Regions from separate parts of the Homo sapiens genome. Here regions 2, 3, 4, 5 and 6 are each linked to region 1. Evidence: promoter capture Hi-C in 16 types of primary human blood cells and fetal thymus (Javierre and others, 2016). All regions are on one chromosome and are shown on one strand. Each heading gives the region's core, a stretch centred on a gene start or on the middle of the fragment in contact. The rest is flanking DNA. Distances are from core to core; before and after follow the strand shown. Region 1 holds the start of MIR302CHG (miR-302/367 cluster host gene). Region 2 overlaps ALPK1 (alpha kinase 1). Region 3 overlaps ALPK1 (alpha kinase 1). Region 4 has its middle 30 kb from the start of AP1AR. Region 5 overlaps FAM241A (family with sequence similarity 241 member A). Region 6 overlaps AP1AR (adaptor related protein complex 1 associated regulatory protein).

Evidence for each region. The method cuts DNA at HindIII sites, captures the fragments that hold promoters and counts their contacts. A CHiCAGO score of 5 or more calls a contact.
Region 2: a contact is called between a fragment that was not itself captured here and the fragment with the promoter of MIR302CHG in region 1, in 3 of 17 cell types (neutrophils, monocytes and total CD8 T cells). The highest score is 9.7, in neutrophils.
Region 3: a contact is called between a fragment that was not itself captured here and the fragment with the promoter of MIR302CHG in region 1, in 2 of 17 cell types (neutrophils and fetal thymus). The highest score is 7.6, in neutrophils.
Region 4: a fragment that was not itself captured here is called in contact with the fragment with the promoter of MIR302CHG in region 1 in 1 of 17 cell types (neutrophils); the score reaches 7.6 in neutrophils.
Region 5: a contact is called between a fragment that was not itself captured here and the fragment with the promoter of MIR302CHG in region 1, in 7 of 17 cell types (neutrophils, total CD8 T cells, total CD4 T cells and 4 more). The highest score is 10.7, in neutrophils.
Region 6: a contact is called between a fragment that was not itself captured here and the fragment with the promoter of MIR302CHG in region 1, in 6 of 17 cell types (neutrophils, naive B cells, naive CD4 T cells and 3 more). The highest score is 7.9, in neutrophils.

The regions. Positions count from the first base shown.
Region 1 is chr4:112,647,980-112,652,234 of GRCh38, forward strand. It overlaps MIR302CHG (miR-302/367 cluster host gene), which reads right to left and starts at 2,072. Exons shown (of 3, transcript NR_146092.1): 1 at 2,013-2,072; 2 at 534-620. It overlaps LARP7 (La ribonucleoprotein 7, transcriptional regulator), which reads left to right. Exons shown (of 13, transcript NM_016648.4): 9 at 1,556-1,707; 10 at 2,482-2,603. MIR302D (microRNA 302d) reads right to left here and starts at 92; the gene lies at 25-92. It overlaps MIR302A (microRNA 302a), which reads right to left and starts at 272; the gene lies at 204-272. It also overlaps MIR302C and MIR302B. RefSeq lists an enhancer at 892-1,614. The HindIII fragment of the contact is 6,288 bases long and covers 317-4,255 here.
Region 2 is chr4:112,329,512-112,334,138 of GRCh38, forward strand. All of the region lies in intron 2 of ALPK1 (alpha kinase 1), which reads left to right. Among named protein-coding and RNA genes, the nearest start is that of ALPK1, 34 kb to the left of the region's middle. The HindIII fragment of the contact is 1,897 bases long and covers 1,360-3,256 here.
Region 3 is chr4:112,313,719-112,318,084 of GRCh38, forward strand. It overlaps ALPK1 (alpha kinase 1), which reads left to right. Exons shown (of 16, transcript NM_025144.4): 2 at 2,083-2,134. Among named protein-coding and RNA genes, the nearest start is that of ALPK1, 19 kb to the left of the region's middle. The HindIII fragment of the contact is 2,794 bases long and covers 300-3,093 here.
Region 4 is chr4:112,200,146-112,204,226 of GRCh38, forward strand. No RefSeq gene overlaps it. Among named protein-coding and RNA genes, the nearest start is that of AP1AR, 30 kb to the right of the region's middle. The HindIII fragment of the contact is 9,259 bases long and covers 1-4,081 here.
Region 5 is chr4:112,182,402-112,187,099 of GRCh38, forward strand. FAM241A (family with sequence similarity 241 member A) reads left to right here. Exons shown (of 2, transcript NM_152400.3): 2 at 4,292-4,698. The coding sequence ends at 4,537. Among named protein-coding and RNA genes, the nearest start is that of FAM241A, 39 kb to the left of the region's middle. The HindIII fragment of the contact is 1,032 bases long and covers 1,451-2,482 here.
Region 6 is chr4:112,251,467-112,255,964 of GRCh38, forward strand. AP1AR (adaptor related protein complex 1 associated regulatory protein) reads left to right here. Exons shown (of 10, transcript NM_018569.6): 2 at 1,742-1,790; 3 at 3,281-3,307. Among named protein-coding and RNA genes, the nearest start is that of AP1AR-DT, 22 kb to the left of the region's middle. The HindIII fragment of the contact is 6,257 bases long and covers 1-4,498 here.

The DNA.
Region 1 (4,255 bases), core at 822-3,321:
CAATTGCTGATTAGGTAGGAACCACCACACTCAAACATGGAAGCACTTATTTTTGTCATGTCACAGCAAGTGCCTCCATGTTAAAGTAGAGGGGGCCCCTTAACAGATGTAAAAATACAAAATAAAGCTTAAATATATGAGCTGCGGTCAATACAATAAAGTTATTTTCTAAAAAAATAATAAAAATGTAAAAGGAAGACTTACCATCACCAAAACATGGAAGCACTTACTTCTTTAGTTTCAAAGCAAGTACATCCACGTTTAAGTGGTGGGGAGCCCAGTCTTGGAAAAAGTTAGAATCCTTTAACCTGTAACAAGCTTAGTAACCTTAAAACACAATAACAAAAAAATTTTGTAACAAAAGGTGTGCTGGCTTGGAGACACCTCCACTGAAACATGGAAGCACTTACTTTTGTTTCACACAGCAGGTACCCCCATGTTAAAGCAAAGGGGATCCCTTCAAATGAGGTTAGCGTGTTCTATTTTGGAGAAGTAAATTGGATTCACTCCTACTAAAACATGGAAGCACTTACTTTTAAAGTCACAGAAAGCACTTCCATGTTAAAGTTGAAGGGAGCCCACCCAACATACAACTTCTTTGGACTTCAGAGTATTTAGAGCTGAGGAGAAAGAAAACAAAATGGCATAACTTTAGAAGAAAAAAATTTTTTTACCTTCCTGAACTAGTTCCCAAAGATTCGTGTTCTCCTCCAGAAGGGTAAAAGGCAGGGACTTCAGCCACTTCTATTTATACTATTCTTAACTCTTGAATTCCTTTTGCCTTTTTATCTCAGAGAATCATTACAAGGGCCTTTTGTTATTTTAATGTATCAGCTCTCAGGGAATGTATGATCCTGGGTGGGTCTGGATCCTTTTTTTTTTTTTTGAAGTATACAGATGTCAATGTTAACAGCTAAAACCATTACCACAAGATATCTTCCTCTTAAAAAAAAAAAAGAAAAAGAAAAAGAAAATCTCCTATCTGCTTGTTTGATGGCATAGATTAGGGTAACAATGAGTGCTCCCACTGAGCCGAGAAAGGCATTGTGTTTCTATCTGGAGGAACTCTGTTTGAAGAAGCATCTACATGTTAAATGTATGTAAATAAATAGATTGCTTCCACGGGGTGTTTTGTTCTACTTAGAAATTCTTTTTGATTCAAGTAAATACTAAGGAATGTTATCTCTCAAATTGGAAGCAGTTTAACAAATCTTTAATCTCGCCCTTTTCCCACAGAGATGACTGATTTAGTAAATGTTACTAGTTAAGGAATTAATGCTAAAATTTTACTTTTATAAATTAAAATACTTCAGACACTCAAAAATTTAATTGGCAATCTTAAAACATTTAATCTGAATATTGGGGGAAGAGGAACTCCCTTAGCTTATTTTGCTAAATGTCTTTAGAACCTAGGAAATATTTTGAATATGTGTTTAAAGAAACAGGAAAGTTGGTGGAGGAGTTGCTCCAAGTCATTGTGAATGTATATATTTAGATATTTCCCTATTTACTTTTTATATTTAGTCATCTGTTATCACCATTTCTTTCCTTGTAGGAGCGAATGGATGGATTTGAAAAAAGAGTATTTAGCGCTACAAAAAGCTAGCATGGCTTCTTTAAAAAAAACAATATCCCAAATAAAATCAGAGTCAGAAATGGAAACAGACAGTGGAGTACCTCAAAACACTGGAATGAAAAATGAAAAAAGTAAAGATCACTGATAGTTTTGACAACATTATAATGTACTTATATATGTAAATGCTATCTCTGAGTTGTTATAAGATAAATTTTAATTTTAAAAAACTTGATTATTCTATTTCATTATTAGAACAATTCTTGATTTGTTAAGTTATCCAGATGTGTTACTTACTCTTGATATAAGAATATTTAAAAGGCTCATTTAAAACAATTTTTTAAATAACCTGAGTTTTCTCTACAGTTTTCATCAAGCACATGAGTGCAGAGTTTGCAGACTGAGCAAGTTTGTAGGAATGAAGATTGTAGTTTCTCACCTGTTAATTTCATTCTGTAGTATGCACCACAAGCAGGAACAAGTTAAAGCAGAATTCCTATGAATTCAAAATTAGGATACATTTTAAATTCTCATTTCTTGTAAAAATAAATGTTCACGTTTGAATAATAATGTATTTAAAACACAGTATCCTTTAACTTTTTTTTAACTTTATTGAGTAAAAATTTACTGTTCCTTTGTTCAGGGAGAAGGGGCAAATTTAAAGGCTTTACGAATGCTCTTCTAGCAGTAACAATTTGCATGTAGAATAATAAAACTTTCTGAGTTTTATTCATGGTATTTTGAAATAAGCAGTATGACATATAACCTTTAATTGTTTACTTTAAAATTAAATACGTTTTAAATTATTTAAATCTGCCTCAGGAATTATTCTAAGGTAGTCCTCCTAAGTATTAAATTGTTGTTAAGTGTAAGAGATTTAGTCCTGGTCTTTTTCCTTTTCTAATCAGCAGCCAACAGGGAAGAGTGTCGCACCCAGGAGAAAGTTAATGCAACAGGACCACAGTTCGTGAGTGGAGTGATTGTGAAGATCATTAGCACAGAGCCTCTACCTGGCAGGAAACAAGTCCGGGTAATGATTTTGAGCCCCTAGGGTATTTGTTCCTTTCTTCTCTTATTATTTCCCTGTGTGAAAATGTTTTGAATATGGAAGATAAAACAAATCAAGTTAGAATTTGTTTCCCTATGGTAAACTACTGTACAGTTTTAATTCCATGGTAACTCTTAGGTTTAATTTTGAAGCAAAATCTAGAGGCTGAAATTCCTCACTAAATCTATATGTAAGCACAGTTTAAACATCCTTCTCTATAGGAAAATTGTAACTTTTGCTTATTTTTATTGGCACTGATTTTTTTTGTATTACCTATGTGCTGATTATCTTTAAAATTTTAATTATAGAAAAGTAAAATATTTTTGAAAACCTCTTAAAATTTTTCACGCATGTGCCAAAAAACCCATACTTCTATATAATTTACGCTACAAATTGCTGTACATACAGGTTTATAATTTTTTCGCTTTATACAGTCTATCTTCTGTAGCCTTTTATACCACATTGGTAGCAATACTTTCTATTAGGGAAATTATATACTTTTAGGTGAGAGTACCATATCTTATTTACCCTTACCCTGCCTGTCACCCATTTAAGTGAATCCTTTTCTTTTTAAAAAGTGTGAAATGCTCTGTAACATACCACATATTTTAAGTATTTTCTTATACTGACATTCATCATCACTTAGTATGTTGTTTTGGTTTTACGTAGACTCATCAGTCACAGGTTTTAACTTGAATACCATTGAGGTGGTGGTTTGTTTATCTGTAAGCCCTCCTTATCTGAAATACTGTCCTACAATCCTATAGCTGTCACTAAGAAACAAATTTTGATCCTCTTTGCAATGTTGGTGAAGGATTTGGCCAAATCCAAATTGCTATTACCAGCTTGCATTTCAGGAGACAGCTGAAAATTGAGGGATGTAAATACTGCTCTGATTAATCAGATTGCAAAACATTTAATACAAAAATTGCTCAGAGTTATTTCTAATCAACTCATTAAATAACTTCTGTTATTTAAAGGGTAACTTTATCAATTACAAATTCATCATTTATGATCATCAAAATCATAAAATCAATCCCTGCATTAATCCAGTTAGTAGTTACTTACATTTTGCTGAAACAAAAACTGAGCTGTGTTGGTTACAACTGTCTGTGACTTGCCCATGTGATTACCAGGCTAATTTGTCATTCTATGGGTTTTAAATTCTAAGGGTTTTAAATCAAGAGATTAGCCTGACATTATAATGGATATTTAGTATATATCTTTTGAGTTGTAGTAATTGAATATGCTCAAAAGTCAGTTATAAAACTCATTACTACTACTGAATGCATTCAAATTTCAACAATACTGAGTTTTTTACTTGCTTTATATCTAAATTTGGTACTAATTAACTAGGTAAAGAAGTGGGAAGGACTAGCAAGTGTAAGTCTCTGCAGTTTTTTTTTTTTTAATTTGGCAAACAGTTACTAAATGCCTGTTTTGTGATAGTTGCTGAGTGTTGGGATGAGTTAAGATCTAGTCCCTGGCTTCTAGAAACTCACAGATTTTATTATATATTTTTTATTATTAACTGATAAACTTTTCTTATTCTATGATGAAATAATACTTCCAGGTATTGCTCAGTTCTTTCCGTAATTCAAACATCTAAAAATTCAACATCTGAAAGTAATGTA
Region 2 (4,627 bases), core at 1,058-3,557, 320 kb before region 1:
TTTGGTTTTGGGGTAGCTTGTAAAAGCCATGAGGTTCCAGTTAACCTAAAATATGAAAGTATAAAAGTTATCAGAGAATTCAGAAATTATAAGATGTTATCTAAGGGTTGATTTGGATTTAAAGGCACCCATTAGTAGAAGGCAGACTTTAGGGGATGGGAGTGAGGAACAATCAGAAATAGGCTCTGGAAGACAGTCCAAATAAGAGCAGGAATCCATTACCCCATGGCACTGCTCATGAGGTTGACAATGGGCCATCTGACGTGAAATCACAGCAATGGTCAAGGACATGAAGACACACACAAGGGTGGGAGGGGTATAGGCCTGTCATGTCTGTACATGGTAAGTACTCAATAAATACTGGTCGAATGAACAGGCTACTGTGTGACAGAGTTGCTAAGGGGAAGCCACAAACTACTTCACTAAAGGCGCAGTTTATTTACTTACTTACGTATTTACTTAAGTACATATGAAAAGGAATTGAAGTGACATGCACTACTAAAATGTACCAAAATCCAATGTAAGCAAAAGTTAAATTGAAAAACGCTGATTAGAAACCATTTAGAATAAATGAAGAGAGCAGCTTGGGTCCTGGAAACCTGTGTTGAATGAATCATAAAGTAGAGCTTACAGAAAGTTCTGAGCTTCCAGACAACCAAGTCAAAAGAGGAACAAGCTGGATTTGTACATCTTTCATTAGTTAGTAAAGGGGTGTGTATAAGTTCCTCTGTAAATGCAGACTTATTTTTGGAACTTAATTCCAAGAAGAATTTATTGCATGGACACTTAAATAAGAGAAAGGAGACATTTGGCAACAGTTTTATAAAAGTACCTACATGTCATTTACAGCCTAAGCTATAAAGGTAATCACCACCAGTGTAGCCTGTATAAATTAATACACAACAGGGAGAGGGGAAAAAGGAAATGGGTTAAGGTATGAACATATGCACTACCACCCAAAGAGGGAAATATGAATATTGGCTACGGTCCTTGTTTTCGCAACTGGTTAAAAGGCTAGAGTTATAATCTACTAAATCTAGTACTCCCAGTGATGTGAGAGGTTCCACTCCTGCTTCTTCCCTTTGATTCCTGGACCCATGTGGCCTGTCCTTGGGTGAAACAAGACCATATATTGGTTGTTGATTCAGAGCATATACTATTTTCTCTATACCAGTACCCATGCCTTATGTCTTCCAGCCGGCTCTAAAACAGAATGTGTAATAGATTATTGCTTTGCTCTGTTAAGGCCAGCTGCTCCAGGGTTATGGTATGACCGATCGATGAATCCTGTGGGAAATGCCCTGCCCTATAGCATCCTTGGCCAGAGGCAGTGTTGTATGGACTAATGTGGGTGAATTAAGCTTTCAGTAAGTCCACAGACGGTATTGCTAAGAGAAGCATAGCAAGGGAGCCAAACCTACATCCAGAACACATGTCCATTCCAGGGAGAAAAACTGCTACAACTCCATGATGAAAGAGGTTCACTATGATCAGCCAACAGGAGGTTAGCTGTTCCCTCCTCATCCCTCAGGTTTAGAGCTAAATGGAGGGCTCACTATGCTGGCGTTTCAAGCATTCAATAGTGGTGTGGTAGCCAGATTTGCTGTGGTAAGGGGAACTTCATGTGGTTGAGTCCATGCATAACCTTCATCTTTGTCACCATGGCCACTTTGTTCTTGAACTCATCGAGGAACAATAGTGAGAGTAGGGAGACAGGAAAACGGACATGTGCAGTACTGGTCTTTTGCCCGCTGATTATTGAGAGGGTGTCTTCTGCAGTGGGAGACCTTTGGTGGACATTTACATGGGGCACAAGTATTCTGATATCATAAACCCATTCTGAGAGGTCCATCCATATCCATACGTGTATCTCTACCCTAAACCTCCTTGTCATCATCCTTCAATCTTCTTCCTTTCAATTTTCTCATCATCTAACCCAACCTTTCAGCTCTGTCTTTGAATTGCACTGTGATTATCTTTCCTTGCAGGCAAAGTATACAATTTGAGGTACCACTCAAAGTCTGTTTATTGGGAGGATTTATCTTCTCACTTGTTTCTCATGGCTGACAGTGAGGAGAGCTCCAATGCTGTATCAGTTTACATATGACAGTGTATTATGCATAAACATCAGTAAATCAGCCTTGGACATTTTCTATCCTGTCCATAGAGAAATTCCCATTACACTGTATATGTGGGTCTAAGGAGATGTGGCATCACAGCAAGACTAGAAGGAGAGTTTGAGCCACTTGCTCATGAAACTTTCTTATGCCTTTAGCAGTTGTGAAGTCTGATCTTGTATATATCTCTTCAACTTGATTATGGAGAGCTGCTGTGCACATCCACATTTTCAAATAGGTCAATCAAGTCGCATCTGATTCAGGTGGGCAGCTTGGGTCTCATACATAATCAGTTGATTTCCTATGTCTAGACACTCAGTCTCTACCAGTACCAAATAACAACCACTAAGTGAGGTTTCTCAAGGAAAATAGCTATTTGCCAAAGAGGTATGACTTTACGCTCAAGTCTGGGATCTGTACTATTATTATCTTATTCAGGAGTTCCATAGGATCAATATGGTATCCTGATTTGCCACAGTCACTCACTCTACGGTCCCAAGGGCTAAGTGGCAAGAGAGGTTTATTCTTTAAACTGAACTGGCAAAAGAATATTATTTTGTTTGGGACCTTCCTTAAATATAAAGCCTATGGTTTATCAATAAGGAGGAAGGAAGAATACCAGTTAATTTGCCTGTATAATACTGAAAGTCCACCAAGTATTTGTGCCTCTTTCTTCCTAGAACTGGACGCAAGAAGGTACAGCAAATTGACTTTCACAATTTGAAGGGGATATCTCAATATACTCCAGATCTCTAGACCCCCAGAAACATCAATGAGTTAGTAGATCTCTGAACTTTTATGGAATTTTTCTCTTATCCTTAGTCACATATATGTCTTGCCAAGGCATTTTGTGTATTTGCTAATTTATGCTCAGCAGATTCATTGACTGGTTGCCATCAATTACATGGCCATGGTCTATGTCCTGTGAAATGGTGAAATGATCAAGGTCCCTGAATACTAGGTTATGACACAGTACAGTCAGGGAGCCAATGTAGGAATTCTGCCACTTGCTGAGTAAGGTCTTCTCTAATTCTAAATACAGGAACTTGGAAAATAAATACAGGATGAATGCTTGGACCCAGAATGAACACACTGAGATAGATTTTGTCAAATATTCCATTTATCACCCAACCCTCTTAAGCTTTTCTTCTGATTGTTGGACTGTAGTGGTGTTATATGTCCCTGGAGTTAACTGTAGCTCAGAGACAATTCCAATAATCCCTAAAACTTCTAACTATTTTAGTTTCTTCATTGTACATTTACCCTCGTGAATTACTGCAGATCACTTTGGGGAATGCTAAAAGGAAGCCTTTTGATGCACTTTCAAAGAACTTGGCTTCAAGGGTCCCCAGTCTCCATTTCATGGAAGGGGCTTTTGGTCTATGAACCAACTCAGTTCTGGGAAGTAAGAGACTATGAGACTGTGGTCCCTCAAGCCACACTTCTATTTGCTAGGGTTAGGATTTTCAATTATAATACATAGATGAAGTAAAACCTTAGTGTACTGCCCATGTATTAAAGCTGAAGCTAAAGGTCCTTGCAGGTCAAACCATTCTGATTACTGATCTGGCCCTGCATAATTATGCCCACCTTGCCTCTTGGTTTATGCCTCTCCAATATCCTCTCAATTCTAAAGAGTATATCATGGAGTACATTTCTACTTTCATTCCCAGATTACAAAGTATAGTTGCCATCTTGCTTTTTAGTGATGTGTGCTTTCTCACTAATATGTTTTGTAATGCCTTGTTACTAGGACTATCCCTGGAACATAATTAGGAGTGATACGCTGCAGGGTTGAGTGAGCAGATCACCCTCACAGATCCATTCTAATATTTCTATCTCTAAGTATCTGTGTATCTTCATCCACATTATACTAATTTCTAACAGCTTGACTTCCTTTAGTGTAGGCCACCACTGAGTCCAGGTACCAGCCAACCAACTGAACAAATGGTCATAACCAATCTCACCTACCAGAACTAGCGCATTTACCAGAGTCTCTGGTAGATGAACCCACATTAATGTTTGACCCAAAGGAGCTATATTCCTTTCTTCTTCCTTCATTTAGCACTTAAGAATCCATTTTCACACATATTCCACTAGTTTCTGTTGACATAAATTAGAAAAAAAATTCTACAATTCTATTGGTGTGTAAGCCCATTCTCGTGTAGGTGTAACTTGGTTAGACTCTCCTTCTGATATTTAGACACTTCTGCCCCACAGCCTCTCTAAGAGAAGCACGAAGCTTCTTAATGCTTTTTCTTTTCCTTTTGCTTTTGTTTTTTGTTTGTTTGGTTTTGTTTTTTGTGTTTTTTTTTGGTAAACAGCATAAATAGGCTTTATTTTTATTTATTTTTTAACTTAACATAGAGCAACACTGATGTATTGTTTGTTCTTTATTTTATAATTTTTACAAATGTATAGTACTGTGTAACGAACACCCTCATCAAGATACAGAACAAATTTCCCTCTAAAGCATGCTTTAGATGCATATCACAAATTTCCTGAAGAAA
Region 3 (4,366 bases), core at 447-2,946, 330 kb before region 1:
ATCTCAAAAAAAGTAATAATAAGAAGAATTGACGGCTGGATTTAGCAACATGGAGTTGATCAGTGACTTTGACAAAATTTGTTTCAGTGGCATAATGGGACAAAAGTCTAATTAGAATGCGTTTAAAAGAGAATGGGAAGAGAGAGGTTGGAAGCTCAAGTAGAGACAATTCTTTCAGGGAATTTTGCTAAAAAAGACAATAACTACTGATGAAAGTGAGATGAAGAGATTTTTCTTCTAAGATGAAAGAAATAATGGCATATTTGTAAACAGATAGGAATGAGCCAAAGGAGAGCAAAAGCTTGACGATGTAAAAGATTGAGAGAGGAAGAGGAGAGAAATACTGCTGCCCTTGAATAGAAACACAGTTGGACTTAGTGCCCAAATGGAGTGCTTGGTTTTAGATAAGAGCATGGGTGGTCCCTCTCTGATAGCAGAAGGGAAGACAGAGTATGGGATGCAGCTGCTGTTAGATTCGTAGAAGGGAGTGGGAGCCTGTGGAAGTCCTCGTCTGATGAGGATGAGGATGGAGGAAGAAGAGACAGCGTGAAATAGTCACCTAAGTGAGCAGAAGGTAAACGGATCATAAAAGTACAGTAAGGGTTCAGGAGTAGGATCCATAGAGGTCCCAGTGGGATTTTAGGATTGTTGGATTTTGGAGACTAAAAGGGGACAAGATGGGTAGTAGTGAATAGCGAGAGAGATTCGTGAATTTGAAAATCTGGAAGGGTTGCTGTGATTGATGATAACAAAATTTAGGCTGTATGACCATGGAAGTGAATGACTGAGGTTGTGTCAAGGACAACATCTTTGGAAGAAAGGATTTCAAGGAATGGAGAGTCCTGGATCATCACATGATTATTGAAATATCGAAGAATAAGAGTGATTTGGAGAGACCAAGTGATCCAGGAGCCAAAATGCCCTGAGAACTGGCAGCTGATAGCAACAATGAAGGGCAGTGGGATAATAGAATCTGGTGACATGAATTCCAAAGGTGGGGATAGGAGTGTGTGAAAGCAAGGTTCATAAGTGGCAGTTAAGAACAGGAGACCTCGACCTAGGATGGTGGTTTAGGGGCTGTAGGAGAATAAGCTGGCCTTTGAGAGGGTTATAGGAGAGTTGAAAAATGTAAATTACTGGGAAGAGTAATCCATTGCCTTTTTTTTTTTTTTTTTTTTTTTTGAGACAGTCTCACTCTGTTGCCCAGGCTGGAGTGCAGTGGCCTGATCTCGGCTCACTGCAACTTCCACTTCCTGGATTCAAATGATTCTCCTGCCTCAGCCTCCTGAGTAGCTGGGATTACAGGCACGCGCCACCACACCTGGCTAATTTTGTATTTTTAGTAGAGACAGGGTTTCACCATGTTTTGTCCAGACTGGTCTTGAACTCTTGACCTCACATGATCCACCTGCCTCAGCCTCCCAAAGTGCTGGGATTACAGGTGCAAGACACTGTGCCCGGCCACATTGTCATTTTAATATACAATAAAGTAGTAATTATTATTGCAAACTTCTTTAGCAACATTTTTGTATAAATAACTGGGGGATTCCCATTTTTCTGGCAGGCCCCAAAAGTAGTAAATAGACTTTTTTAAAGTCAGTGGATGAAAGTTGCAGAACTCCAGGAGATAAGATGTCAACCCCAGAGGTTTTTCAACAAAGTCCTTTTATTTCATGCATAATAAAATTATCAGATATGACCACCACTGATAGTTTCATACTCTGATGTTGAGTTTTCTCTCCTTTATGGTTGAAGTTTAAGGAGAAATTTGAAGCCCTTTCCCCTATTTAAGGGAGGGAGGAAACCAAAAGAGGTTTGTCCCCAGTCAAGCACTCTGGACAGGATCTGGTCTCCCTTGATGTAACATTCCTCTTCCTTTTATATCTAAAGTGATGAACAGTGATGATACAATTGTAACTTCTCTGCACTCATTTGCAACTCAGGAACTTGATCTTCCTGTTCCCTTATCCGCTGTTTCGAATAGCAAGCATGCAACAATGCTTGTGACATAATGCAAGAAATAGAGATTATTCCATCTTCTTATAACAAAGTCCTCTGTTTTTATGTCTTTTTCTTAACTAGGAAGTTCTTCTAAATCAGGAATGGATTGAAATCTAATGAACCGAAACTTTGGGTAAGTTTTCATATGAAACTTTTGAGTTAAGTTATTTTTTCCTAACTACATAGCAATACGTAGTCATTGTAGAAAATAGGAAGAGGAAAACAATAGAAAAGTACCACTTTAGAGGCAAACATTCCACATTTTATTGTATTTCCTTCTGATTATTCTTCAATAATTTTTAAAAATTGTGGTAAAATACACATAATATAAAATGTACCATCTGAACGATTTTAAGTGCACATTTCAATGGTATTAAGTACACTCACATTGTTGCACTGCAATAACTACCATCCATCCACAGAACTCTTTTTTATCTCACAAATTTGAAACTCTGCATCCAGTAAAGAATAACTCCCATTTCTCTCTTCCCCAGCCCCTGGCAAACACCATTCTCCTCTCTGTGTCTATCAGTGTGACTACTCTAGGTACTTCATATAAGTGATATCATGCTGTATTTGTCCTTTTGTGACTGGCTTCTGTCCTCAAGGTTCATCCATATGTCAGAATTGCCTTCCTTTTTAAGGTGGAATAATATTTTATTGCATGTACATACCAATTTTGTTTCTCCATTCATCCGTTCAGTGGACTGCTTCCATATTTTGGCTATTACTAATCATGTAATGGACATGGGTATATAAATATCTCCTTGAGTTCCTGCTTTCAATTCTTTTGGGTGTATGTAGAAGTAGAATTGCTAGATCATATGGTAATTCTATTTTTATCTTTCTGAGGAACTGCCGTACAGTGACAATACTGCATAAGATTTCTGATTTCTCCACATCCTTTCCAACATGTTATTTTCTGATTTTTTCATGGCAGCCATCTTAATGGGTGTGAGGTAGTGTCTCATTGTGCTTTTGATCTGCATTTCTGTAATGATTAGTGATATTGGGGACTTTTTCTGTACTTATTGGCCATTTGTATATCTTCTTTGGAGAAATGTCTATTCAAACTTTGCCCATTTTTTTTCAAGCTTTGTCTGCTTTATTCCACTACATTAAGTAAGGCAAAACAGTAACCTGTCATTCATAAAGATCAAGGAATGACTCGCATTCCCAAAAGGAACCAAAAAGGATGTTTCTTCACAAATGTGCATGACATTTATCATTATGCTGATAAGCACTTTAAACAACAACAAAAAAACTTTAGTGGATGAATCAAATAACAGATCCAAATTAACTTAGCTTTAAGTTTCCAAAATTGTAGTTTCAAATGCTAATGCTTTGCCCATTTTTTAATTGGGTTGTTTGATTTTTTTGTTGTTGAGTTACAGTTGTTCTTTATATACTCTGGATATTAACTCATTGTCAGATCCATGATTTGCAAATATTTTTTCTCATTTCATAGGTTTCCTTTTCACTCTGCTGATTGTGCCCTTTGATGCCCAGAGTTTTCAATTTTGATGTAGTCTAATTTATCTATTATTTATTTTGTTGCCTGTGCTTTCCATTTCATATACAAAAAATCACCAAACCCTACTTCATGAAGCCTTCCTCCTATGTGTTCTTCTAAGAGTTTTCTAGTTTTAACTCTTACATTTGTGTCTTTGGTCCATTATGAGTTAATTTTTGTATGTGGTGTTGTAAAGTAAGGGTCTCACTTCATTCTTCTGTATGTGGATATACAGTTTTCCCAATACCGTTTGTTGGAAAAAACTATTCTTTCCTCATTGGATGGTCTTGGCACTCTTGTTGGAAGTCATGTGACCCTATATATGATGGTTTATTTCTGGGCTTCTTATACATCGATGGTCTATACTACTGTTTGGATTACTATGGCTTCATTGTAAGTTTTGAAATCAGGAAGTGTGAGTCCTCCAATTTTCCTTTTTTTCAAAATTTTTTTAGCTATTCCAAGTCCCTTGAGATTCTATATAAATTTTAGGATGGATTTTTCTACTTTTGGAAGAAAATGTCAGTGGTTTTCGATGATTTTTTGCAGAGTTGCTATTACACTGTATGAACAATTTTATATTTTGCTTTGTCTTACTTAAAATTATTACATATATATACCATTACAAAATAAATGTTACTTATTATCCAAGCACTTCACAAACATACTTTACAGTGACTACATAAAGGAAATGTACAAATGGAAGTATAATTGAAAGGTCTGAAAATATGCCTCAAACCACAAGACGTGTGTGTACTTTAGATACTATCGTCATAAAAATGAGAAGAATTTGATTCAAGACATTTCAGGGTATTAGGATGTGATATTTATACTAAGTGAGTAGAAAGGAAT
Region 4 (4,081 bases), core at 1,401-3,900, 450 kb before region 1:
ACACACACACACACACACAAGAGAGAGAGAGAGAGAGCACAACAATTGAAAGAGTTTCCAAAAAACCAAAGCTGGAACAATTTAAGCAACAAAATATATAAAGTAGTATTGAATTGTAACCCAAAGTATAAATATTCACAAGTTTATCCTGATAGAAATAGATGATTACATAAACAAATTAATAAAGGAGAATAGACAAATATCTTACACAGAATTTCCAAAGAATTTATATAGATACTGCCCTTTCAGGTAGGTGGAGCACAACTCCCTAATCCATGAGAATTACTTTCCAAAGAATACAGAATTGAAGGCAGTAGGGAGAGTAGCTTGATAGGGGAGAAGCCTGACAAATATTACTTCAGCCAGGTCATCAAACTTGGTATCATCAGTGATAAGTCATGTTGATAGCATATACCTTTGATAGGTTGTTATGGAAATGCCACTTTATATCTGTGGTCTTCCACTCCAGAAACCATAACCCCAGGCTAATCATGAGGAAAACATCTGACAAACCCAAATTGAGGATCATTTTATGAAATATCTGAGCAGTACTCCTCAAAACCTTCAAGGTCATCAAAAACAAGTCTGAAAAACTGTCACAAACCAGCGAAGACTAAGGAAACATTATGATTAAATGTAATGTGGTATCCTAGATAGGATCCTGAAACAGAAAAAGAACATTAGGAAAAGGTAACGCATTCTAAAAGAAATATGGACTTCGATTAATAATAATGTATCAATACTGGTTTAGTTGTAGCAAATGTACTGTAAGTATGAACGTAGACATAAGATATTAACAACAGGAAAAACTGTATGCTGGATAGACAGGAACCCTCTCTATAATCTTTGCAACTTTTCTGTTGCAAAAATTTAATTATCTGCATTACTAAATACTTTTTTTAAAAATAATTTTAGGCCGGGCGCAGTGGCTCACGCATGTAATCCCAGCACTTTGGGAGGCCGAGGTAGGTGGATCACTTGAGGTAGGGGGTTCGAGACCAGCTTGGCCAACATGGTGAAAACCCATATCTACTAAAAAAAAAATACAAAAATTATCTGGGCGTGGCAGCGCACGCCTGTAATATCAGCTACTCAGGAGGCTGAGGCAGGAAAATTGCTCGAACCCGGGAAGCAGAGGTTGCAGTGAGCTGGGATCGCGCCACGGCACTCCAGCCTGGGTGACAGAGCAAGACTCCGCCTCAAAAAAAATAATAATAATTTTAACAAATTCCACTTTAACCGTTAGTCATGTCAGTAACCACATATTATCTCCTTTTCTATATAAATATTCCTTTGCGCTATGAGACAACATAAGTTTCTAATGACTTTTTCACCCTCTTCTTTTTATACATTTCAAAGCAGCAGTATAAAATTCACATTAATACTCCTTTGAAAAATTATCGCTCTATGACATATCAAACATATTAAAATAAATATCTACAAGTTTATAGTGATATAAATAAATTATTGCATGAGAAATTAACAAGGGAGAATTTCATGTGAGCATTTTATTTATGTTTAATAATTTCTTAGGTGAGGGAGAAAGGATAGGAATCTAAATGTCCTAATACAAACCAATTAGCTCACACCCAAAAGAGTCTTTGAGTTTGACATATACTCCTAGAAGTTCCTCCTGGGTGTGGGGTCCTTGGTCCATCTGTGAATCCCAGGAAGACTCCCAGGATATTTCCAAAATACCCTAGAAGTTGACAAGCTGTTGTTGTGCCTGAACCCCTGTGGATGCCACTGGGAATGGCACCAGGCTCAAGAAGCTGAAGAAGAGAACCAGAGCCAGCAAACGAGACATACATTTTATTGGGGGCTTACATACAGGGGAAGGAATCTAGTAGCAGCAGGCTAGGCAGGAGAACTGCAACTGCTTACAAAAGGCAGGTGGTTTAGCATTTTCACTTAGCATTCTTTTCCTAACGACCTCCAGCTGGCAACCTTCATTCAGCTCAAAACTTGGGACCTGGACCTCCGTATGGCCTGTGTTCCACAAGATGGGCTGGGAGCTCAGATGTTCCTCACAGAAAAGGAACAAATCTTCACTTTGGCCACACCCAGATTCCCCAGCTCAGAACATGCATTCAGGTGCATCTGCCATACACGGTCATTCTCAGGGTATGCTTCAGTTATTACTATCACATGTGTTCACCATACAGTTGTGACTGCAATAGAGTCCTCTGGCTCTGAAGAGCCTTACCACCAGTGAGTCTTCTGATCTGCTCAGGACAGACCAGCCTGGAACAGTGCTTCATTTTCCCACCAACCCCAAAACATGCTTGGTCCCAGAGCCAGTCAATCCATAAGAGAGTTCTTAGGCTGGAAACATCTTAGAAAGTCTTTCCAGAAAGACATCTCAGGTTGATATTAATACGGCTCTGTGGCCTTTAGAGGACCCTGGAAAGGAAGCATGTAGAGATGAGTCCTGCAGCCTGGCAACCTCCATTTGCATTCATGCCCAACCACAGAGCATCTTTAATATATCTGCATATCACCAGAGGTCCTCCTCAGGGGAAAATAACAGGTTCTGGGTATTCTCTGGAGTGTAAGGCTCTACAGGCTTGATAACTTCTTCTGACAGCAACGCCTGTTTGCCCTCTCACTAAGAGTTCTTCTGGCTTATGTGAATTTGAAAACATTTCTGCCTGAATATGTCCCATATATTCTCTATCATTTTTTGAAGGTCAGCAACTCTAGCCATCCAATAGTGATTATGCAGAAGATCTGTACATTGAACAGGTGACATAACCAAGAAAAAAATTGTGTCACTTGTAGTCTATACTTGACTCCTGTCCTCTAGAAATTGCATCGTGCCTTGATTTCTCTATTTGTAAATGTCAATTTAGTCTAACTCTCAAAGAGTTAAAACATTATTGGATAGGGTTAAAAAACATCTTGACTTTTGTTAAATATATATATTTATTTATATTTGTTATGCATTCTTATGTTTATATATTTTTAATGTTTACATATATTTTCTAGGAGACATAGTAAGGTGTTGACAGTGGTGATCTCTGATAGGCATATGTTTTCATTTCATCATTTTTGCTTAATTTATCTTCTAGAATGTAGTCCATGTACAAGGTAATAATGAAATATTATAGTTTTTGACCCATGCTATTTTATACATTCAGTGCATTAAATTTCTCTCCCTTTTACCTGTTCCCTTCCTAGCAGAAAAATGGTTTTTTAAAAGATAACTATTCAATGAAATATAAAAGAACTGCAAAAATACATACTAAGAATGTTAATAAACTAGGTTTCTAGTAATGAATAAAACGCTTCTTAAGGTTTTCCATGAAGTATTGGCCTTTGAGATGGAAATTTCCAAACTATTTTCATTTGCTACCATAAAAACTGCATGAGTGATCAGGCCTGATCACAGATGGGGAAATCCGGTGATGCCTGGATGATGGAAAAGGTAATAAGGCCCAGATATTGAGCTGTTTTCTTTAGACTGCACCTGGTTTATGGGGGCCTGAAGTACTCCAAATACTCTGTCATAATTTGTTGTTAGGAAAATGAGCTTAATGTCACGGAAAGGTCAGTCAAAGGTTGAAAACTATTTGAAATGAGAGCTTCTTATCACTACCTATTACTTTGAACCTAATTGTGTACTGTTATTTGTTCAACTGTTTGCATACCAAGGATTAGTTTAAAAGTTGAAATTTTGAAATATCTGGAAATAGTTTTCAGAGAGTTCCCTAGCCTGCCACTCTTTCACTACCCACATAACAGAAAGCTGGGTAGGAGAGGAGCAATTCCAAACCAAGGCCAAGACAAGTTCTTCTGAAGCCCTCTTGGGGCATCTGCTGGAGCAATACTGGTTTTTTGTTTGTTTGTTTTGTTTTTTTCCTTCAAGCTGGCAATAACGCCTATTTTAATCTAACCAACCAAATAAACAGCAGGGCCAAATGTCCCTTTTTTTTTTTTTTTTTTTTTTGAGACGGAGTCTCGCTCTGTTACCCAGGCTGGAGTGCAGTGGCGCGAATTGGACTCACTGCAAGTTCCGCCTCCCGGGTTCACGCCATTCTCCTGCCTCAGCCTCCCGAGTAGCTGGGACTGCAGATGACCG
Region 5 (4,698 bases), core at 717-3,216, 470 kb before region 1:
AAGTCATAATATAGTCCTTTCTTAATACAATTTACCCACTTGCAATATATTTGTAATAAGTTAATTCTACTTAATTATCTCAGCTTGTCAATGTTGTAAACTTAAAAAAAAAAAAATAGAAATGCACCAGTTGGTGGAAAGAAGGGAGGGATCAAACTCATCGACTATAACCGTGCAGGCCTTTACCTCAACTTATTTCAAGTATCTCTTATTCCTACAGTGAAGTGCTGGTGCTGGCTCCTACCAATCGTCAAAGAGCAAGTTGTTAAATTTTCAGGAACTTTTTGAGCTGGCTGTTAATAGTTTGAAATTGGCCACAGTGGAAGTACTAACACTACAGAAATTGGAAATCACAACAGAATTGGCAAACGCTGTAAAATAGAGCTTCCCCCAACCCCCAACAAAGCCCATTGTTAAACATTTACCAACACACCAGTCTTTGTATCCTTTAGAACTGTGTTATTTGAGAGGATATCCTAGATACATAAAATACTGTAATGAGATTGACTATAATCTCACTGATTGAAGAATATTGATCATTTTCCTTTTCCACGTTCTTTTTTTTTTTTTCTTTTGCCTGCCTGGAAACTGACACCCTTTCCACATTCTTAAATGTCTTCCTTTAGGGTTGTTTGAACCCCCTATCCAATTCATTGCTGGATATATTTGATGTTTCTACAGAACTTCATTTGTGAAGATATGTTACTTTTAGGCATTAGCCTAGTGATTTTTTTTTAAACTTTTTTCTTCTTCATCAGATTACCCAGATTAAGAAGTATTTCAGTAAGGTGGCAAAGTTTTAGAAATTACTGAATCTGGTTGATACGTATATAGGTTTATTATACTATTTTCTCTAGTTTTGTGTGTGCTTAAATTTTTTTATAATTAAAAAAAAAGAAGAAGAAGCAGGCTGCAACAGCCACAGCTTGCCCAGACCTGTCCTTACTGGGTCTTCAGCTTCCAGTCTCAATCCCACCAGCTGATCTCAAGATCTGAGATAATGTGAGCATTGCTGTCTCCTCGCCTGGCCTGATTTACTAACTCTCTGTTTTGATTTAAGTGTTGCAACACCTCCTTCTTCCCCTGAAAAACCCACAAGCATTTGTAGATTTAATTTATTTTACAAAGAATTTAAACCTTCAGACAGTACCTACCACATCCAGATTAGGGTACTTTCTTCGTACTAAAACCACAAAAATACTGAAAAAAAAAGTCTTAAAAAGCTTCAGTAACAACAAAAAAAACCCCAAAGTACAATGAGTGCATAGATTACAAGAAATTGGGAAGAGTAAAAAAAAAAATTTTTTTAAGAACTTTAATAAAAAATGAAGAAAAAAAGGCCAGAAACAGTATCAACATGCTGAACACTGGAGAAATAGAGAGGGATGAGGGATCAGCAGAATTACATACTAAATCGAGGACTCTTCAAGTTCTACCCTAAAGAAAAGAAAGCTTTAATATTAGGCAAGAATAAGGGTTTTTTTAAAATGTAGTATATTGTTATGGATCATATCAAAGTACAAGAAACATAAAATTGACCCAGTCATAATATATCAGTGAAGGAAAAAATAATTTAGAAATCAATTTTTTAAAAAAAGAAAAGATCCACAAATTATAACTTAAGAGAAAACTATCAGTATCAAAAAAGGATCACATAAATCATTTTATGGATTAGAAAACTGAAGTTCAGGAAAAGTGAAGTAATTTGGCTAAGGTCATGTCACTCAGTTAAAGTGTTGCAGCCTGGATGTGAACTCCCTAGATAACTCTACAACATTTTGTTCTTCTCACTCTTTTTCTGATAGAAGTGAAAATCCAAAAGTAATTTTAAAAATTATATAAAATAGGCCGGGCACAGTGGCTCACGCTGGTAATTCCAGCACTTTGGGAGGCCAAGGCAGGTGGATCACCTGAGGCCAGGAGTTCAAGACCAGTCTGACCAACATGGTGAAACCCTGTCTCTAGTAAATACAAAAGATTAGCCAGGCATGGTGGTGCATGCCTGTAGTCCCAGCTACTTGGGAGGCTAAGGCAGGAGAATTGCTTGAAGTGTGAGGTGGAGTTTGCAGTGAGCCGAGATTGTGCCATTGCACTCCAGCCTGGGCAACAAGAAAGAAACTGTCTCAAAAAAAAAAATTATATAAAAGTATAGCTCAAAAGTAAATCTGGCTTGAACACATGATGTAGACTCAACAAAGATGCCCCAGTGAGTCTCATTTTTCTACTACCTCATCAGTCCCCCTTGGTACTCATTACTGTACATAAATTACTAGTATATGGGAAAAGCCCATTTCTTAAAGTCATACTGAAAATCATTTTGTCTGATTTTCTATTTTAAACAAAAGTTAGATTTTTTTTCACTCTTCCCTTAAAGATTTATTTTAAACTCTATGTGTACAATAGAAAATAAGGCTTCATATAGCCATTTCTTTAATGAAAAAAATATTTTTAATTATTTACTGATCGATGACTGAAATGATCAAGCTTTGGTTTCTACTAAAAGAATGTAAGTTTGATTCAGATGTTTGAAGAATGTCTTAAAATTTCCTCAAATTCATTGGCTGTTTGTGGCAGATGATTTTGTGACACTCCCTTATAAGATAATTAATTTTGCTTTCCTTTGGCCTATACGGCATACTTAATGGTATTTAATACTTATTATGTGAAGCCCTATATCTAAAGGCTTTTTAAACGTATAATAAATTCTCCATCATGTACATACTATGAGCAAATAATTCAATAATTATTTGAATCATGCCTCCTAAATAAAATATATTTAAATAAATTATAATTATCTCACCTACATGACAGTTTTTCTTTTGTGATTCTACTAGGGTCTGGGGCGGTGGGGAGGGGGAGAGAAACTATACCAATTATTTTAACAAAGATAATTTAATATAAGTAATTGTTAACTGGGTATTGGAAAAGCATGGTCACCAGATCAGCATCATAAGCATCACCTAGAAACTTCCTAGAAATGCAAATTCTCAGACTCCAACTTCACCCCTGACTTACTGAATCAGAAACTCTAGTAGTAGGCCCAGCAAGCTGTGCTTTAACAAGCCCTCCAGCGGATTCTAACGCATGCTAAAGTTTAAAAACCACTGCACTAAAATATCACCAAGACAACCACTCATAGGACTGGGCAGAAAGAAAAAGAGATGGATGGACTTACTGAAACTGAGAAGCTTCAAAAAGGCCCCCATGGAACTGAAATTCAGACTTTTGAGAACAGGTCACTGCTTGCCTGGTACTGATTTCTCTGAGTTCAGAGGAGGGAGCCTATAGACCTGGGAACCAGGTATCTGAGGAAGAAGCACCCAGTAATTGGAGCTGGCATCTCAAGAAGGCACATTGAGATTGGTTCTACAAGTGTTGGAAAACCCCCAAATTGCAATCAGCTGCTACTACTAGCAGGCACTATTGCTGTCGGAGTGAAGAATTGTTGCTAGAGTGAGACTTAACAGGATTAAGAAACCCATCCGAAGGAAACAGCAAATTCCTTCTTCCTTCTCTACCTGTGAAGTGTCACGCTGGTCCCTCTATTGGCAGAGCCTAACAGGGAGACAGAAATGCTTGCAGAATTCCAAAGAGTGGGTTTGAAGCCAAGAGACAGTAGCTTACTGTCATGGCCTTAATTATAATACAAGTGGAAGATAATAGAAATAATACTTTAGGTATGTATAATTGGGTGCATGTAGACATTTTCTGGGATACTAACTACTGGGTAGACATTTGGCCTTATTGTAAAAAAAAAAAATTTGTATTAAAACTATTTGTTTCTCCTGATGAAATTAATAAGAGGCATTTAGGGCATCTATATAATGAACAGGAAACTATGCAAGGGCCTGCGCTGAAGTCTGCTTAGCTGAGCCTAAGACAAAGATCACAGCAGTAGTGGCTGAGGATTGCTCAATAATAACAGCAAACATGCTTTGGTCATCTGAGGCTCGGTTTCTTAACGTCTTAGTGTCAAAGGAACCGTCTAAAAAGAATCTTACCAGGACAGAGCAGTCAGGCCTTGCCTCATAAAACAGGAGGGTGGCAGAAAAGGGTGTTCTGAAATCATGGTCACTCACAAGAGAAATACAAACATGATTCTTCACTTAAGCAGTCATTTTTGTGCAATTCCAGGATCAAAAAGAACATTCCCATTGTGTTAACAGGTACTTGTAGAATAATTATCAGAAGTATGCCCAGCACTTTGGAAGATGAAGAACTAAGGTTCTTAAAGACGTTTACATATTTCTCATGTTATGTTCATGTTTTGTCTTTTTTTTTTTTTTTAAAGGATGTTGAAGACTCACAGAACCACACTGGTGAGCCGGTTGGAGATGACTACAAGAAAATGGGAACACTTTTTGGTGAACTGAACAAAAACCTTATCAACATGGGCTTCACAAGGATGTATTTTGGAGAACGAATAGTGGAACCAGTAATAGTCATTTTCTTTTGGGTTATGCTGTGGTTCCTTGGCCTGCAAGCCCTTGGACTAGTTGCTGTTCTTTGCCTTGTTATTATTTATGTGCAACAGTAAAACATGGCCGAATTGAATTGTTTGACATTTGGTAGCCATATATGTAATTGAAGAAGTTATATATTTCACTTTTTGACAACCGAAAAAGTTTGCCTTGTTTCAAATCATGTGCTGGCTGTTTTGTAAGTAAATTTATACATGGATGTCACTTAAAACTAAAC
Region 6 (4,498 bases), core at 1,198-3,697, 400 kb before region 1:
CTTTGCCACAGCAGTGAAGTCATACTGATGGCTCCTATTGATAGTATTACTGGGCTTTATTTCTAATTATTCAGCTGTACCACTCACTAACCTGGAGGAGGAAACAGATTAATCAGAGACAGATTCTCCATTCAGGGAAGATAGTGATGGTTGCAGGGAGAGAAGCATATAGCACTGTAAGCAGGAATCCTAATGCCAGAACCCAGTGCTACTACTGAAGGTTCAACTCATTTCTGTATTTGTTTGAGAAATAAAGGAGAGAGAAGAGTGGAGGCACTAGATAGAGGATTAAGGGTATTGCATTTATGTTGGATATAGTCCATGAAATCTGTGGAATTGTAATACCAAATTCTTTGCTTTTTACCAATGATCTTAGTGGACAATAACACAGATTTGCATCTATCAGCAGATAAAGATTATAGCAGGAAAAATAGTTCCCATAATTTCATTGCTATTTTTTTCCTTCAGTCATGATATGGCATTCTCTTTCACTAAACCTTCATCCACACACATACACATAATACAAAGAATTCTGCACTTTGGGAGTCCCAGAATTACTTGAGCCCAAGAATTTGCGACCAGGCTGGGTAACATTGAGACCTCGTCTCTACAAAAAAATAAGTGAAGCCAAGCATGGTGGTGCATGCCTGTATTACTAGCTACTGGGGAGGCTGAGGCAGGAGGATCACTTGAGCCAAGGAGTGCAAAGCTGCAATGAGTCAGGATTGCGCCACTGCACTCCAGCTTGGGTGACAGAGTAAGACCCTGTCTCCAAAAAAGAAAGAAAAGCAAAAGAATTCTGACCTGTCCTAACCCCAGGATTCTCCTTGTTTCTTAAAAGTGTGCTTTCTGTCCATGAATCCTGATGATTTAAGAACACTTAGTACAAATTTGGATCCCCATTGTATGGCAGTGGAGTTCTCCATCAGTTTTGGCAGCTGTAACAGGAGCCACATTATGACTGAAAGTCCCGTAATCTCCTGGCACTTCCAGTTACAAAGGACTGTGAGTGGCCCTCTCCTGGGATGCCAGCTTGGATGCTGTAGTACTTAGAATGTAGACATATCTTTGGAGGATATAATAAAGAAGATTCCTATTTGACTACATATAAGTTTAATAGGAGCAGGAAAGAATGATTAAAATAAAGTCAATATTTGGCCCTAGTTGGAAAAAATAATGTAATGGATTGTTTGATTGACATGTATATGCATTGTTTTTCTCTTTTATTTGTGAGGGCATGGGAAGATAACAAAAGTCTTGAATAAAGACACGTGATTCCACCACCAAAGATAACTACTCTTAGCATATTGACATATATACTTTTAGATACTTAATGTTCTGTGTATTTTTAACAAAATTGAGAACATATTCTTTTTATATATTATTTAACACATCAGTATTTTTTAACGAGGTACTTTTCTTGATGTAGTAAAAATAATGAGATACATTTTAAAATGTATTCTACTCAATGTAGTAAATATAGTAAATTAATTATTACAGATTTAGTAAGTGTTAGTGCCAATAGAAAGAAATATTGATTGACTAAACAAAGTCATAATGAAGTTTAAAAATCTGGACTTTTTATAGTCTTAGGTAAATTTTGTTGTTCTTTTTTTATAAATATAACTATATGTTAGAGATTTTAAAGTTGCTCTTGAGGAAATAAATGTTTTTATGCTATATATTAATTCAATCTTAGAGTTAATTGTGTTTTTTAAAGTTATTCTGTTTTCCTTCCCAGATCCAAGTATTTTAGAACATGCTCAAGAGGTGAGCACTTAACAATAGAGGTAAGTAGTCCTTAATTTGATTGAATTAAAAATGCCTTCAGAAAGGCGGAAGGGGCTTTTTGTTGTAAAGAGGGAAAGATCTGGACCCAAATTTAGAATGGACTGTTTATATTTCAATATTATTCATGTTAGTGAAGATTGAAAGAGTTGGAGCAGTGAGGGAAGGAATGAGTAGGAAGAAGTTTGCAGAGGATTATGGTTCTGTTTTTCTAATAGCTTTTTCCCCCACCCTATAAGTCAGGGAGAAGGTACTCTTCTGTCAGTAATAGTGGCTCACTAGGGTATAACGAGAGGTGGTTGGCCTGCCCCAGCAGGGGGGAGTCCAGAAACAAAGCAGGAAGTTGAGTTTAAGCAACTCCACAGCAGAATGACCGAGTCACTTTTTCTTTGAATGTAAAATATAATAATAGAAACTACCATTTATTCCTTACCTACTATAAACTAGCCACTCCACCATACAAATTAAGAATGTCATCACAACTCTCTTGTAAACAGGTGGTGGTCACCCTGTTTCATGGATGAAAAATCAGAGGCTTAGACAGGTGGAGAAATTGGGCTATATTACACAACCTATTAAGTGGCAAAACCTAAATTCTAGTCCAAACTGCCTGGCTTCAAAGCTGGAACACTGTACTTTATGGCCTTCTATATTAATAAGGAAATGTGTAAGGCAGGAATTAGATATTTAAAAATCACAAACTAATATAAAAAAAGATAAAGATAATAACTTTAACAGTTTTATTCTTTTTTCAGAGAGATTCCTTAATTTTCTAAACCTTTTGAATTCATTGTTTTCTCTCAATCTTTAAGCCAAACAGTATTAACAATAAAACACCTTTTATTTCAGGTGGTTACTTATCAAGTTATTTATATTTAAAATAAAAACACTTTAGTGATATAATAGTAATGACTTTTATTAGGTCACTGACATAATAGTGTTAAGCACATTATGATCAAACTGTTTACATTCCTATCTCTAGAAAGACATTGTATTTGGGGATAGTAACTACCACTTAGTAGATTTTCAGTAAATAACTATATGAATGAATAGACGGATAAATATAAACGTGGGGAAATTCTTATTTGGTATCTTTTAGTCCCCATTCCTTGAATAATTTTCCTTCTTACAACATTTGTTCTGTAGTCAAGTGAAGTGGAATATTCTGGTAGCATGGAATGAAATTACTTGTATGAAATATTCAATTCAGATGAAAGTTTTAGTTCTGATTTATGTAGAAAATTGCTATAATTCTCCTGTTTGATTTTCATTCATAGAAAGTCATAAATTAAAATAGTATATGCTTGTCTTGGCCATTTTGTAGGACTGTTAAATATATCAAATGAAATGATGTATTAAAGAGGCATTTGAATTAAATAGCTTACAAATATAAAGGTATATTATTTTTAAGTGAAAAAAGTAACATAATTTCTTGTGAGATGTATACCTAAGACAAATATTCCTCTTAACGCTTACTTTTTTGTCCTTTCAGTTTGAGAATCTAGTAGAAAGTGATGAAGTAAGTATTTCCATAATAGTACAAAACTTGTATTTGTTTTTCTCATTAATCGTCTCATTAGTTCTAACAATTACGTTTACAATTTTTATTATTTTTGTTTTAGAATTTTTATTTTCTGGTTTTTATTTTTACTTTTTAGTTCTTTATTATTTCCTTCTTTTACTAATTTATATTAGAAAATAATTCCGAATTTTTTTTTTTTCTTGAGACGGAGTCTCGCTCTGTCTCCCAGGCTGGAGTGCAGTGGCGGGATCTCGGCTCACTGCAAGCTCCGCCTCCCGGGTCACGCCATTCTCCTGCCTCAGCCTCCCAAGTAGCTGGGACTACAGGCGCCCGCCACTACGCCCGGCTAATTTTTTGTATTTTTAGTAGAGACGGGGTTTCACCATGTTAGCCAGGATGGTCTCGATCTCCTGACCTCGTGATCCGCCAGCCTCGGCCTCCCAAAGTGCTGGGATTTCAGGTGTGAGCCACCGCGCCCAGCCAATTCCGAATTTTTTTACTATCTAAGATACACTATATACACACACAGGATTTAAAGCGTTATACAGAAACCCAAGGAACTTCAGAAAGTTGTATTTCTAATATTTCTAACCTCTTGCCATTAAGTAGGTAAAATACCTAACAATCCAGAGTAGACCCATTGCTTTTTGTTGTTGTTGCCGTTGTTTTCTTTTTAAGAGACAAGATCTCGCTATGTTGCCCAGGCTGGACTTAAACTCCTCGGCTTGAGCAGTCCTCCTGCCTCAGCTGAGTAGCTGGGACCATCGGTGTGTACCACTTCACCCAGCTTTGGAGTAGGCCTATTCTTTATAGTTTTCATAGATTCTGATGTCAGATTTTCTACATGTTTATTCTACAGTTTCTGACTTTAGCCATCATCTCTTTTATCTTTTCTTTATGTTGATTTTCTACATTTCATCTCATACAACTCAGCAAGTTTTAAGATGCTTCTCAAATACAGAAGTGTTAAAAATGAGAAGGGAGTGCATTTTAGAATCAGCAAATTGTGTATATTTCAACATTTGATCTTAGTCAAAAGGCTAAGAAGCATTTCTTATGCATTCGTATAGTTAGAACTTTAGTTTGTATGCTAATTTGCAACTTCACTAAATTAATTGTGTACGTTTCTGCAAATTACTTAACCTCCCTGGGTCTACTTTCTACATCTTTAAAATTGGTTCGACTAGA